Regions from separate parts of the Homo sapiens genome. Here region 1 is linked to region 2. The links are contacts of gene promoters, found by promoter capture Hi-C in blood cells and fetal thymus (Javierre and others, 2016). All regions are on one chromosome and are shown on one strand. The core of a region is centred on a gene start or on the middle of the fragment in contact, and the rest is flanking DNA. Distances in the headings are between cores, read along the strand shown. Region 1 has its middle 21 kb from the start of KCNE2. Region 2 holds the start of MRPS6 (mitochondrial ribosomal protein S6).

What was found. The method cuts DNA at HindIII sites, captures the fragments that hold promoters and counts their contacts. A CHiCAGO score of 5 or more calls a contact.
Region 1: a contact is called between a fragment that was not itself captured here and the fragment with the promoter of MRPS6 in region 2, in 12 of 17 cell types (neutrophils, naive CD8 T cells, non-activated CD4 T cells and 9 more). The highest score is 12.5, in neutrophils.

The regions. Positions count from the first base shown.
Region 1 is chr21:34,339,224-34,346,124 of GRCh38, forward strand. No RefSeq gene overlaps it. Among named protein-coding and RNA genes, the nearest start is that of KCNE2, 21 kb to the right of the region's middle. The HindIII fragment of the contact is 2,613 bases long and covers 4,140-6,752 here.
Region 2 is chr21:34,070,292-34,077,119 of GRCh38, forward strand. MRPS6 (mitochondrial ribosomal protein S6) reads left to right here and starts at 3,287. Exons shown (of 3, transcript NM_032476.4): 1 at 3,287-3,454. The coding sequence starts at 3,410. SLC5A3 (solute carrier family 5 member 3) reads left to right here and starts at 3,287. Exons shown (of 2, transcript NM_006933.7): 1 at 3,287-3,454. RefSeq lists silencers at 2,735-3,254, 3,545-3,944 and an enhancer at 3,198-4,148. The HindIII fragment of the contact is 10,607 bases long and covers 1-3,985 here.

The DNA.
Region 1 (6,901 bases), core at 4,196-6,695, 270 kb after region 2:
CCATGGGGGGGCTCCCTGGGATGCAGATTTGGTCCCTCTCCCCCTCATCACACAGATCTCTGCATGCCTGCGATTTTGCAGGCCACAGACAGGCAGTTGAGGGCATGAATGTTCATCGAGCAGTGGACGGCACAGATGTTTCTGCTTTTCAGAGCCAGCAGCAACAAACCAAGTGAGCAGCCACTTCTCTGCAGATCAGAGCGGGGCATCTTCTCTGCTTTGTGCTCTTCCTGGGATTAAAGTCCAGTTCTTGAATATGGAGGGATAGGGAATTATGAGCAAAGGTGGGAGAATTAGCTTCAAAGAGCTAGGGAGGGGAATATACCTTCTCGTGAGCCTGCAGTACTGGCAGGTGGGGTTGCAAATGTAGACCCTGTACATTTCGGCAGTAAGTTGGGGGATTTCATGGTCAATGATAGAGATGGGCTCAAGGCAGCCATTTGAATGTTTCCTCTAATTCAGAGAGAAATTGCCCCTGAGGTATTGCCTTCAACCTCCCATGGCTTTCACCTATCCCCGGCAACCCAAGCAATAGACTGCTGTGGGGCGCTAAGGAGAATCAGAGGCAGAGATCTCACCCCGATGTGCTTCCCGCATCCTTCAAGGTGGTTTAGTTACCATCTCCTGAATTATTCTTTGTCTGAGCCATCAGAGGCTTCGTCTGTCCCTCTGTTGGCTCCCTCTTTGGGGCTCTGGGAGGATGCTACAGCAGCCCTGGGGTTAGCTCCTCCACGCAAACATGGAGGTGATGCAGCGTGGCTTGCAGGAAGACCCCCAGGCTTTAGCTTTTCTGAGCTGCCCTTTGTTTACCTGTGGTGAACATAGGACCCAGGGGAATTGAGGATCTGGCTGGGGTTGGGGTGGGATCTTGGCAAGGAGAATCCAAGGGAAGTCACTCCCCTCTAAGGGGAGGCAGAGTCCTGGGAAATAGGAGGCCTCTGACAGAGCCAAGTAAAGACTGAGCACACAGCCACAGCCTCTGGAACACCATCTGCAGTGTGGCAAGATGCAATCAGAAGTCAGGACGTGGCCCAGGAGGAGGAGGAGGAGGAGGCGGCAGAAGTTCCTGCACCACAGAGGCCCAGGCATCCTCTCTGCCTTGAGGTTCCAAACCTACCACCACCCAACACTTTCAGAGGCTGTGACCACCTTCGGGCCAGGGAAGAAAAACTTCAGTGACTTATAACTTGTGTTTGTTTTGTTTTTCCTAGAAAGTCTGAACATAACTGCAAGAGCTGTTTAAATTTAGGATCTAAGTTATAAAGCAGATAGGACTAAAAATTCTTTTTCCTACTAACCAGCAGTAAAGACCCAGAAAGAAGACAGATAAGTTTTAGACAAAATCAAGGGACTTGGCTTTATTTCCTGCACATCCAGGTTGCACTGTGAGTTAGAATTTGCAACCCTCCCCTACCCCACACTTTCATGCCTTTTTTTTTTTTTTTTACTTTTTCCAGACCCCATTGGCTAGTAAATGACCTAAAATGCATCGGAAAAACAGCAAAAAGAGACTTGAATAGACATTTCTCCAAGGAAGATAAACAAATGGCCAACAAGCACATGAAAAAGATGCACCATGTCATTAGTCATTAGGGAAACACACATCCAAACCACAACAGTATGATAACACTTCACACCCACGATGACGGCCACAACTTTTTTTTTAGAAAAGAGAAAATGGCCGGGTGCGGTGGCTCACGCCTGTAATCCCAGCACTTCGGGAGGCCAAGGTGGGTGGATCACTTGCAGTCAGGAGTTTAAGACCAGCCTGGCCAACATGGTGAAACCCCATCTCTACTAAAAAATACAAAAATTAGCTGGGAGTGGTGGCGGGTGCCTGTAATCCAAGCTACTCAGGAGGCCGAGGCAGAAGAATCGCTTAAACCCAGGAGGCAGAAGTTGCAGTGAGCTGAGATCATGCCATCACACTCCAGACTGGGCGACAGAGTGAGACTCTGTCTCAAAAAAAAAAAAAAAAAGAGAAGAGAAAATAAGTGTTGGCGAGGATATGGAAAAATTAGAACCCTTATAACATTGCTGGTGGGAAAGTAAAATGGTCACTATGGAAAAGAGTTTGGTGGTGTCCCACTAATTTAAACACAGAATTCCCATGTGAGCCAACAATTCCAGGTTGTATACCCCTACAATCAAAACAGGTGTTCAGATAAAAACATGTGCATAAATGTTTATAGTATCTCCATTCACAATAGCCAAAAGTTGGAAGGAACCCAAATGTCCATCAACAGATGAATAGATAAACAAAACGTGGTATATCCTATCCATACAATAACATATTATTTAACCATAAAAGGGAGTGAAGTATCAATGTATGTTACAGATGGAGGAATCTTGAAAACACTATGCTAAGTGAAAGAAACCAGATGCAAAGGCCCACAAAACATATGATTCTATTTATATGAAATGTCCCGAACAGGCAAATCCACAGACACAGAAAGCAGGTTAGTGGTAGCCAGGAGAAAGGGCCAGGGGAGAAATAGGGAATGACTTAAAGGGTGGTGAAAAACTTCTGGGACTAGATAGCAGATGGTTGCATAGCACTGTGAAGATACTCAAAGCTACTGAATTGCACACTTCAAGATAGTAAATTTGGTGTGTGTTGGTGCACACCTGTAGTTCCAACTACTCAGAAGGCTGAGCTGGGAGGATAGCTTGAGCCCAGGAGTAGAAGGCTGCAGTGAGCTATGATTGTGCTACTGCACTCCAGCCTGGACGACAGAGAGAGACTCCATATCTTAAAAAAAAAAAAAAAAAAATTAAATGTTAAGTTGTGTGTACTCTACCACAATTTTAAAAAATCCATACAGAGGATGCTGTCGCTGAAATATTGACCTCATATTAAGAGTAGCCTGCATTCAGTAAGTGTTCAGCGTGTGCTGGGCATTTTGTGTGGACTATTTGTTTTGGTTCTTACAGGGATCCCAGGAGATAATATCATTATTCCCATTTTGCAGGTGAGGAAACAGACTTAGCTCAAGGGACAGCCCAAATCCCAGAGAGTCTGACTCAGGAACGCAAGCACTTAGCTCTCCCAGCACGCAGCGAGGTGGGAGGGAAGGAGGGAGCTGCCAAGGTTTCCTTCCTTCTTAGGACCATAGGTTAGAGTTCAGGGCACAGCACCCAACTTGGATGGCACAGGGTGCTCCTTCCTGGCCTCGGGCTGAAAAGAGGGCGGCACTATTATAATTGCTTCCGGCTTTTGTCTCTAACATATGGAAAAACAGCGTGGGTAAGGGAGTCTAGAAGGAGACATCCTGCTGAAGCCCGTTGGAAGGACGCCTAAGGTTGCAAGGACCATCGTCCATGAAGGAATAGCTGGTGTTACCTGGCGCCTGAATGTAGGCCCTTCTCCTCTGTGGAGAATGTGGGCCTGACCCCAGGGAAGCCACTTCTTCACCATTTCCCACCCCTGGAGGCTGCAGTCCTCTCATGCCATCACTTCCCATTAGCTTCCAACAATAAAGATCCCAGACTCAGCCTGCTGAGCCAGAGAGATGAGGAGGCATTGGCAGGAAGCCACTGCAGAGGGGGCAGCTGCCTCTCAGAACTGACTTTGGGGTGGTGGCTGGCTCTGTCCCTGCTGTAGCCAACTGGGGGCAAAAAGTCCAATTGAAGGACAAGTTTCAAGGGCGGGTTAGGGTGAGCAGAAAGGATGAGTCCCTGGCAGTGGCTGTCCCAGCCCTGGGCCACCGTGCCTGGGTCTCCAGTGAAATCCCGTCCAGTGGTCATCATCAGAAACCTAAGCCCTGACTCCGGGGCCAGAGGTGACTGTGAGTGGAGTGGACGAACCCAGATGGGTGACCACAATGACCAGAGGAGGGAGCAATGGCTGCTTCCAGATGGGGAGGGGGTAGAAACGCCATTTGAACTCTATCCTGAAGATTCGGCTTTGGGCAGTAACTGGCATCAAAGCCACAGTCCTGAAGTAGGGCAGCATCACTTCACTCTTATCTTTGAGGAACTTTTTTTTTAAGAGACGGGGTGTTACTTTCTCACCCAGGCTGGAGCACAGTGATGCACATGGCTTACTGAAGCCTCAAACTCCTGGCCTCAAGTGATCCTCCCGCCTTGGCCTCCCAAAGTTCTGGGATTACAGGCATAAGTCCCTGCGCCCAGCCAGAAGCTTTCTGATGATATATTATAACTTGGGCCTCTTGTGAGTTACTAAATTGAAGTGGCCAATCCTGTTCAGCTCTCATGCCAGCTTCTATCGATTTGCTATGCCTTCCTGGACCACAGGGTTGAGAAGGATTCTAAGGCTTAGGGGAAAAGATAACCATTGTTGATTAGTAATGCCTGCAGTGGGCACACAGCAGGAGCAGCAGTGGCCGTGGCTAACTCCTGCAGCCTCGGCAGCAGCTCGTGTTAAAACGGTGGCTCAGCTAAGGGTTGGGATAAGCATCCCCGTTATCACATGTGTTCATGGGAATGATTACAAGGGAATCATGCCTGGATAGTCTCTGGAGGTGATGATCACCCCCTTCCATCCAGAAAAATAAATCCTTCCAGAAAGACTCCTTCCTTTCTTCTCCGTTATCTTGTGCTCCCAAGAGGGGCAGCAGGTCAAAGAAAAGGGCAATTTCCTCCTCTTTCCCTGGGAAGGAACCAATGACTGGCAGGAGGGGGCCTCTTTCTCCAAGGCTGTTCTGGAGCTCTTGCTGGCTGAGGGCAGCTGCAGCCACACAGCTCGTTTCTTGACATGGAAAGCTGAAACTTCTCGGATCCCAAGCTAAATACCGTTGCTGCAAAACATCCAGTTTTTCTTTTTCATGGGCCCCTGGTGAATTAAAACCCAGAAGCCAGAGGCCCACCTGCCAATTATTGCAGTTAATTCTGTGCAGGCTTGACTCAGGAACCGAGACAGAGCGTTCTGTTTGCTACCGGGGGTGCGCAGGGCGGGCGGGTGGGAGCCGGCTGTGGCCACAGCGCTGTGAATGCCCTCTGTGTGTGCTGGGCTAGGCCTGGCAGCCACAGTGCCCTCCCTTGCACCGTGAGCTTGGCATCCAAGTGTGACTTCAGTGGGGCCTCTTTCTCCTTGAGTCTGCCTAAGATCGAAGATTCTGTCAGGAAGTTTCCTTCCCTCTGCTACATGTGCAGCCCCCCGCATGCCCCTGAGGAACTCAGTGACAAACACTTCTACTTTTTCCAAGGAATAAGAGAAAACAGCACTCAGCTTAAAACTGTGGGGTTTTTCTGTGGCCTTTTCTCCTCTGACCCAATTGCCTTGCAAGATCCCGCTGGTTTGGGGAGAGAACAGTCACCCTTTGTTCCCTGGAAGCCCCTTTTGTAGTGGGCCACCTTTGAGTTCCAGCTTGGTCTTGCCTCAAGGTGACATCAATGCTGGTTGCTCAAGGCTCTCCCTGCTGGGTTCTTCTAGGGCCTCTTCGGTCGAGTCATTGGTTTATTTATTAGTTCTTTCACTCCTAGGCCCTGGGAAGACTGGAGGAAAAGATGGAGTTCTTGTCCTCTAGGAGTCAAGCAGGAAAGTAGCAAATGGTTGAGTGCTGATAGTGGGGCACAGAGAGCCGAGGCTGGGTTCCCCGGATTAGACCCTGTCCCTGTCCTCTGCATACAAGTCACACAGAGCAGTCCCTGGCATGTGGTGCAAACGTAAAAGGAGGGGCTTCATCTAACTGAGGGGGAGATGCTATCCAGGAAGTTGTCCCTAAGGAGGGGGGTTTAAGTGGACACCTGAACAGTGAGTAGATGCAGCAGGAAGTAGAAATGAAGGGGCAGGAAGGCAGGCTTAGGAGAGGAGACAGGGTAGAAGTCCCCAAGGCACAGGGATCATTCTAATAACTGAGAAATCCAAGAGGCCTGGAGTGCAGACAGCTAGGAGAAGCCCAGCGTAGCATGAGCTAGGGCGGGTGCCAGGCAGCCATGCCTGGCCTCAGAAGCCAGGATAAGAATGTTGGCCTCCTTCTTCGGGATGCAGGGAATCGATGGGATAACTTGAGCGTCCCCAGTTTTGACCACTGCACCACAGCTCCTGCTCTTGTCTTCTGGACCGAATACTTGGCCCCTGGACATCACCTTCCAATGACTCAGAAAGATAAGCCATGTAACAGTGGGGTTGCCTGTGGTGAATACTATACCAGGGCGAAGGCTGGTGGAAAGATCATGAAACCTAAGCCCTGACTCCAGGGTTGGAGGTGACTATGAGTGGAGTGGACTGACCTAGAGACGGGTGACCACAATGCCCAGGGGAGGGAATAATGGCTTCTTCTGGATGGGAAGGGGTTGGAGAACATTTGGACAGGAAACGCCATTTGAGCTGCATCTCCAAGATGAGGCTCTTGGATGAAGGCCATCTGAGTCACAAGACTGGGGGTGCAGAGGTGTGAAGGGAATGGTGGGTTCAGGATCAGCGTTCGGAGGGAATGTTTTATTGGGCTGTGCATCTCCTGACCCTGGAACATTCAAGCCTCCTTACTGACCCAGACAGTGGGTGGCTGATGGGAACCATATGCTGGAAGTCTTCCGGTGGGGCAGGAAGGGGCCTCATTCCAAACCCCATGCTGAGAAAGGAGCTGGCCGGCTCGGACCACTTATTGTCCCCTGCTGGGAGGGGTGACGCTGCGGCTTGCTGGACTATCTCCCCTTTGATGAAGAATGCCATCCTCTGGGATGGGCGGCAAAGAAAGGGCCAGCCTGTGACTTCTGTCAGCTCCCCCGCTGCATCTTAGATGTGCCTATCCTGGGAGATTTCCGGACCAGAAAACTCATCTTTAAAAAGCTTCGTACCTGCCCCAGGTCCCGGGGGATCCCATGTCCCGTCCTCCCCTCCGGCCCCAGCTGCAGCAAATGTCTCCTAACAGGGGCCCAACTCCCAGTAGCCACCTTAATCACATGGCAGGAGTGTCTATTTTCGTTACATAAACAG
Region 2 (6,828 bases), core at 2,037-4,536:
TAGTATAAAGTTAAAAATTGTTTTGGTGAATTTAAGTTTGTAGTTATAGTAGGAAGACACTAAATTTGCAACAGCATTCCTCGTGATTTAAAAAAAATCTTTTTTTTTTTAAATGAAGCCACAAGCATTCTGCTTCTGTGCTTTTTTATTTTTTATTTAGTTTTTTGAGATGTAGTTTTGCTCTTGTTACCCAGGCTGCAGTGCAATGGCACGATCTTGGCTCACTGCAACCTCTGCCTCCCAGGTTCAAGCGATTCTCCTGTCTCAGCCTCCCAAGTAGCTGGGATTACAGGCACGTGCCATCATGCCCGGCTAATTTTGTATTTTTAGTAAAGACGGGGTTTCTCCATGTTGGTCAGGCTGGTCTCAAACTCCCGACCTCAGGTGATCCGCCCGCCTTGGCCTCCCAAAGTGCTGGGATCATAGGCGTGAGCCACCGTACCCGGCCGCTTCTGTGCTTGTTAAAAAAAGGTTGAAGGGGGAAAATCACAGTAGCTGCCCTCTCTCTGCTTTTAAGAAATGGAATGAGTCTGTGGGTGGCTACCAGACTGGGAGGGCTTGGGGATGCTGACTCTGTGGTGAGGTATTACGCAGTCAGGTTAATTTCCTTATACCACTTGTCAAGTTAGAAGGAGTAGAGAAGATGCCAGGTCTTCACTCATCCCTGGGCATTAAGGGAAAACTAAAGAGCTTCCAAGAGGAAATGCTCTGAGTTGAAGTCAGCTCATTGCGCCGCCTCAGTGTTTGACTTGGCATATTACTACGGGGTCTTTATTTTCTCATTACTAAACTGGGTCATGTAATTGACAAGACAGGGGACAGTCGGGGTGGGACCATTCTAGAAAATCTGTAACTGACTTTTTTTTTTTTAATGGAGTCTCGCTCTGTCGTCCAGGCTGGAGTGCAGTGGCGCGATTTCGGCTCACTGCAACCTCCGCCTCCTGGGTTCAAGCGATTCTTCTGCCTCAGCCTCCCGAGTAGCCGGGACTACAGGCAAGTGCCACCGCACCCAGCTGATTTTTGTATTTTTATTAGAGACAGGATTTCACGATGTTGCCCAGGCTGGTCTCAAACTCCTGACCTTAGGTGATCCACCCGCCTCAGCCTCCCAAAGTATTGGGATTACGGGCGTGGGCCACTGCACCCAGCCTGTAACTCACTTCTGAAGGTCCAGAAATTCCTTGTTTCCTTCTGTTATTTATAGTACGCTACTTATTTAAACCAAACATGAAGTTAATTGACACTTAGCCAGGCAATTTGGATTACCTGTGTGGCTTCACACAGGTATGGGTTGTAGACAAGTCTAAAAATAGAAAATGTTAAAATCCAGCTATCTCAGAAAAACTTGGGTTCATCTCCATCTCCTACCTCCCATATGTCACAAATAGACGCATGGGATGTGAAATGGTAACCTCTGGGTAAGGTGACAAAGGTACTCTAATCTTGGCTTACGTGGACTACACGGTTAATCCACTGAATAACAATCAGCATCTTCATCTGTGTGGTAGGAGAACCGGAGGTCAGAAGGGTAGAGGGGCGGCTAAAAGTACTTTGTTTCTATTACTGTATGACCTTGGACTAGTTACAAAACTTTTTGTGCCTACATTTCCTAATCCCTAATATGGGGTTAACAGTGCTTGCCTCTGTTTAAAAAAATTACTCAGTGATGCTTACTAAAGCATGGTAAGAAAGACTTTATTCAGGACCAACGCGATGGGTACAGGGATCAGGGAAACCCGGGGAGAGAGAGTGGGCTCCAATTCTGAATGCAGCGTCGGCAAGTAGAAATTTATGGCCATGTAAAATCACTAAGAGTAACCATCGGGGGAAGAGGGATTCTGGCTCAACCGATCTAAAGGATTCTTGTAGAACTCAGGCCAGGGTGAAAAGACATGACTGGGGGATAGAGGAAGATGAGGAACCTGATCTGCTATGAGGGGATGGGGGTTCTGTGCTAGAACTGGATTTTACAAGGAAGTGCACAGATGGGCCTAGCATGAGATTCAGAAGCCTGACTAAAGTTTGGCCAAGCAAAGAATCTTTGTCACCTCAGGGCTGTTGTGAGAATTTTAGGAGACACATCCACCAGCCTTGGCATGGGGCCTGATGCAGAGTAAGTGTTCACTAAACTTTACCTATTAACGTTAAAGCACTTTAAGTTGACAAACACTCCACGTACAGAGCTTTTAATGGGGCAAACAAGGGGCAGAGGCCTCAGCTGCAGGGTACTCAACCTCTAAGGAAGGGCGCTGGAGAAAACTGCACTTGCAGAGCCCCTGGCTGGAGGGCGGAGAACCATGTGGGTGTAAAGGGATGGCAAGGGCAGAACGTATGCCCCTGCCCACCTTAGACAGTTGCTAAAGGGTCTCCCAGGCACTCAGCCTAGCCTTTAAGTGAAAGCGGAGGAAACATTTAAAGAAATGAGATAGAGTTAAGGTGTTCGCCTGCCCTCCGCTGAAACACGTGGGGGCAGGTCAGGGGCACACCACAAATGCCCGTATCGCGCCTGTGTGTACCAGGCACCGTCCTCGGAGGTTAACGTGCAGTAACTCACTCGGGTCCCCACTTTCGGCACAGGCAGCAGGCCCAAGGTCACGCAGTGCCAAGGGACTGAGTCAGACCCGAGCCCGCGCGCCGCGGCCCACGGCCTGTGCCAGCGCGCTCCTCGCCGGGTAGGGGGCCTGGTCAGCCGCGTCAGACCTGAGAGTTGTGGCTGGGGGCGAGAGCTGCACCCCCCTACCGACCCCGGGCGGGAATGTTCCAGAACCCCTGCGAGCAGCCGTTGGCCGCACAGCCCCCGGGCCGGCCGCGACCCCGCCTTGCGCCGCGAAGGTCCCTAGCTCCGGGGAGTCGCGGGCGAGGGGCACGCGCACGGACGAGACCGCACCGCAGCGCACGCGCACTGGCGGGCACTCACTCGCCCGCCGCCCGGGAGGAGAAGGAAGGCATGGAAAGTTCCAGCCGGTTCGAGAGCTAGGTAGCAGGCATGGCAGGAGGCGGGGTAGGGGCAGGCAGGGTCGCGAGGGGGCGTGCGGCCGCCGCGAGCCGCTCTGGGCCGCGTCTGCAGCACCGCCCCTAGCCGCGGCCGGCGGGCTGGGCTGGGGTCGGGGCGGGGGCGGTGCGGCGGGTGCGGGGCTGCGGAGGGGGCGTGGCGGCCGCCCGCGGGCGGAGAGGGGGCGGGGCGGCGGCAAGGCGCGCGGGCGGGGCGGGGCGCGCCGAGGGGGCGTGGCGCGGCGTCTGCGCAGCTGCCAGCGCCTTTAAGCCCGGGCTCGCGCTCTCGGACCGTGCTTTCGCCGCCTGGGAGCCGTCCGGCGCAGCAGTTTCTAGGTCCCCACTGTCCCCGCCGTCCCGCCCCTTCGCGTCCCGGGAACCGGCTGGCTTCCGAGCCGCACTCGCCGATCCTCCAGGCATGCCCCGCTACGAGCTGGCTTTAATCCTGAAAGCCATGCAGCGGGTAAGTGACCTTCCCTCAGAGCCGGTCTTCCCGCGCGGGCGCCCCCGCTGCCGCTAGGCCGCCGTCCCCCGCGCGCCCTGGCCGCGGGACCCCGGGCCTTCCTGCACTCCTCGGAGGAGGCCGGGGCGGCGGGCGGGCGGCGGGCGTCCGCGGGAAGGGGGCGCGCGTGGGCCGGCCGGGCCCGGCCGCGTGCGCGCGGGAGGCGGGGGTGTGCCTGCGCGTGTGCGCGGTCCGGGAGGGTGTGCCTCGCAAGCGGCCCGCCGGGCGGGGGGCGGGGCGGACCGAGCGGGCCCCGACCCCGATCCCGGCGCCGGCCCGCGGGAGTCCAGTGGAAGGTCCGCGGGAGGACACGCGCGGGCGCCCAGCCCGACTCCGGCCCGTCCCCGCCAGTCGTGAAGCTGCCTCGTCGCCGGCCCCGCCGCCGCCGCCTGGTCCGTCCCGCTCCGCCGCCCGCCGGCTGCCGCCGACCGCCTCCGCTCTAGCGCCCGCCGGCCGCCCGGAACGTCCGCGCCCAATAAAGCGTTCCTCCAAAGCTTGTTTGTGCCGTTGTCTGTATTCCAGTCTCTTGCAATCGCTCTCATGTTAAAAAAAAATCTTTTGACTTTTCTTTTTCTGACTTCAGCGAAAATCCCGCTCCGGGTGCCCTTAGCCCAGTTTCATTCATCCAAGTTGTGGCCTTTCTTGCGCCTCCAGAAGACACTTTCTTCCCCCTGCTTTTGATTGATCTTGAGGTAGGGGATTTCAGGTTTGGAGGGATGCTAAGCGAACCAGCGGCCCCTTTCAGGTGACGGCGTGGCCAAGGACAGGGGCCCGCGGCCCGGAGGCAGCTCACTTCGTCCTCTGTCCTGGGTCATGTACTCCTCAAGTCGTCGCCGAAATCCCCATTCTCCCGTGAATTCGGAATTCGGTAACGTAGTTTGGTGTTATGTTTTTTTTTCTCCACCAGGTGTAATAAAACAAAAATCATTGTACCACGTCCGAACTTTGTAAGCACAGCTTCCTACAGCGCTAGAGGAGTGGACGCATTTTTACGTTTGAAATTAGGCTCCAGGTCAATTGCGAGGAGTATTACCAAGTTTGGTTGAACTTAAGCTCAATTGATAAACTAACAATCACGGAGCGTCGGGAGATTGTTAGGAAGTGTGCTTTGCATATTGTTAACTGGGAAGGGACGCCAGTGCCTCTCTATGAGGTCCAGACAGCCTGGCCAGGCATGCCATTGTGTCCCCCAGCTTGTTCTTCATGGATTTGGAAGAAGTTAAGATAGTATCTGTTCAGCCTCTTGAATATCCCTTTTGGCCCTCCTCCTTGCTTACCAGCATATGTAACTCCGAAAGGATAGGAGCAGTGAAAACAAAGCATTATTAAAAGGGAAGATTTTTAATTAGGTGGAAGTTGTTTAAGCCCTCCCTTCAACTTACGTGTTTTAGGGAATGTGGAACCTGGGAAATTCGTTACTGAAATTCCTTTTGTTTACTTTCCTTGTCTTGGGGAGGTAGCAGGTGACACTGAAAGAGGCAACCTGTAGGCAATAATATTTGCTCATTCTGTAACCCTTTGAAACCTTTGAAATGAAGACTTGCCCTCCCCTTTGTTTTTGCCATAGTTGCCAAGTATCTTGGTTAACATGGCTGCAAGTATTAAGTGTATTTCTTTTACCATTTTTTTTTATGTCCTGTAATAACATAGCCTTTGGATGTGGAGCACCCATTTTTCACTCTAGTTCAGATCAACAGAGCGTAATTTGGTTAAAATAATAAATAACCTTCCTTGAAATCTTCGCATGAGGGAAGGGGGGCAAAAAAAAGAAAAAAAGCCCTAGAAAGTAGATAATAAAGGTGAACTGCCTCTTGGAGAAAGAGGCCCCATGGCAGTAGATAGAAGGTTGTAACAGTGGTGACTTATGTACAATGGCGAAGTTATGTTGAGGAGATCCTTGACCTAAATAAAGTAATATTAAACAATAGCTTCTCAGTTATTTGTTCAAAAACCTATCTGTAGCTTGTAAATGTGGCACAAACACAAAGACTTCCAGGTTTTAGACCAGTTTGCTTGCTTTCAGTTTAGGAAAATAGGATTCTAAAATAGGATGAATGTTTGGGGGGAAACGAATTTAAAAAGTTAACTCTAGGCTTATGAAATGAAAAATGCGACTGTGAGCTTGCACACCGGTAGCAGGCCTTGGAGAAACCACAGTTCTAACCCGAGGCACTTTGTGCTTCTGTTGCAAGAAGGGTATTGAAGCTCCTCAGTTCAAAGTTGCGTATCTTCCACGTTTTTAGATTCTTAAGTGTATACCTCTTTACCCCTTTAATATGATGTATTTTCCTTTCCTCCCCAAATCATTTGTGCATCTTGGAATTGAGGAAAATGCTGTGTTAGGCAACTTTAACAGCGGATATGGAAGTTAAGAAACTATAGTTTTCCAGCCTTTGGACTCCCAGAGCTGCTCTCCTGTTTTTTCTCCGCAGTACTCAGCCTGGAGAGCATTCTTAGTCTGTTTGGAGAATATTAACTCCTCCCTGTCCTCATTACTTTTTTTTTGACCCTAGCTTGACTCCTTTAAATTGAGCTTGCAAAGTTTTAAAATTTAAAATACAGGCCCTGTGTTGGCTGTCACAGTATCTGGATTGTAGCAAAGTCAGTTGCGGGAATGCCCATTGAAAGATTTCAGAGTGTATTATGTAGAGTCAGTCATATTGAACTATACAGTTGTACAATTAGTCACCCAGAAATTCCAATACTATGTTTTTCTCAGTTTGCAAGTAGAAGTTGATTATGAGTATCTACTTTTGTACTTCCAAGTTTGGGCATTTAGGAATGTAGTTAACTAGTGTTTCTAAGAAGAAATTTATTTTCAAGTACCATATAGCTTGATTTTTAAAAAAGTGTGTATATAAAAAAAGTTATTTCTATTTTCTGTTTTAGCGTGAAAAGTAGGTAAAAGTGTGGTTAAATTCTGAAATATGACGGTAAAGTAATGGATGTTGTGAAACTAGGCCTTTAAAGGTGACAAGCAATTTGAAAAACCAGTTGTTTAGACCAGTCTTAGTTCATATTTATAGAAGAGTCTCTGGAATAAAAAGATTTTAAAAGTCCTGTTACACCCATATCAGATAGCATCAAGAGAGTTTTATTCACTTCTGGAAAACACAGTATTCAAAGGCTGTAATGTGAAAGGACATAGCCGCAAAGGAGAGACCAAGGCTGCAGTCCCAGGTAGCCTCATTTCAGTGTGAGGAAGACCTCTGACAATGGAAAAAGAAATGGATTGCCTGTGAGATGGTGAGGTCTATATCCACCTCCACCCTGCCCCCCCTGCAATGAGAACTTTGAGGTAGATGAGGAGAAGGGGTCATGTGTTTGGTGAGTGA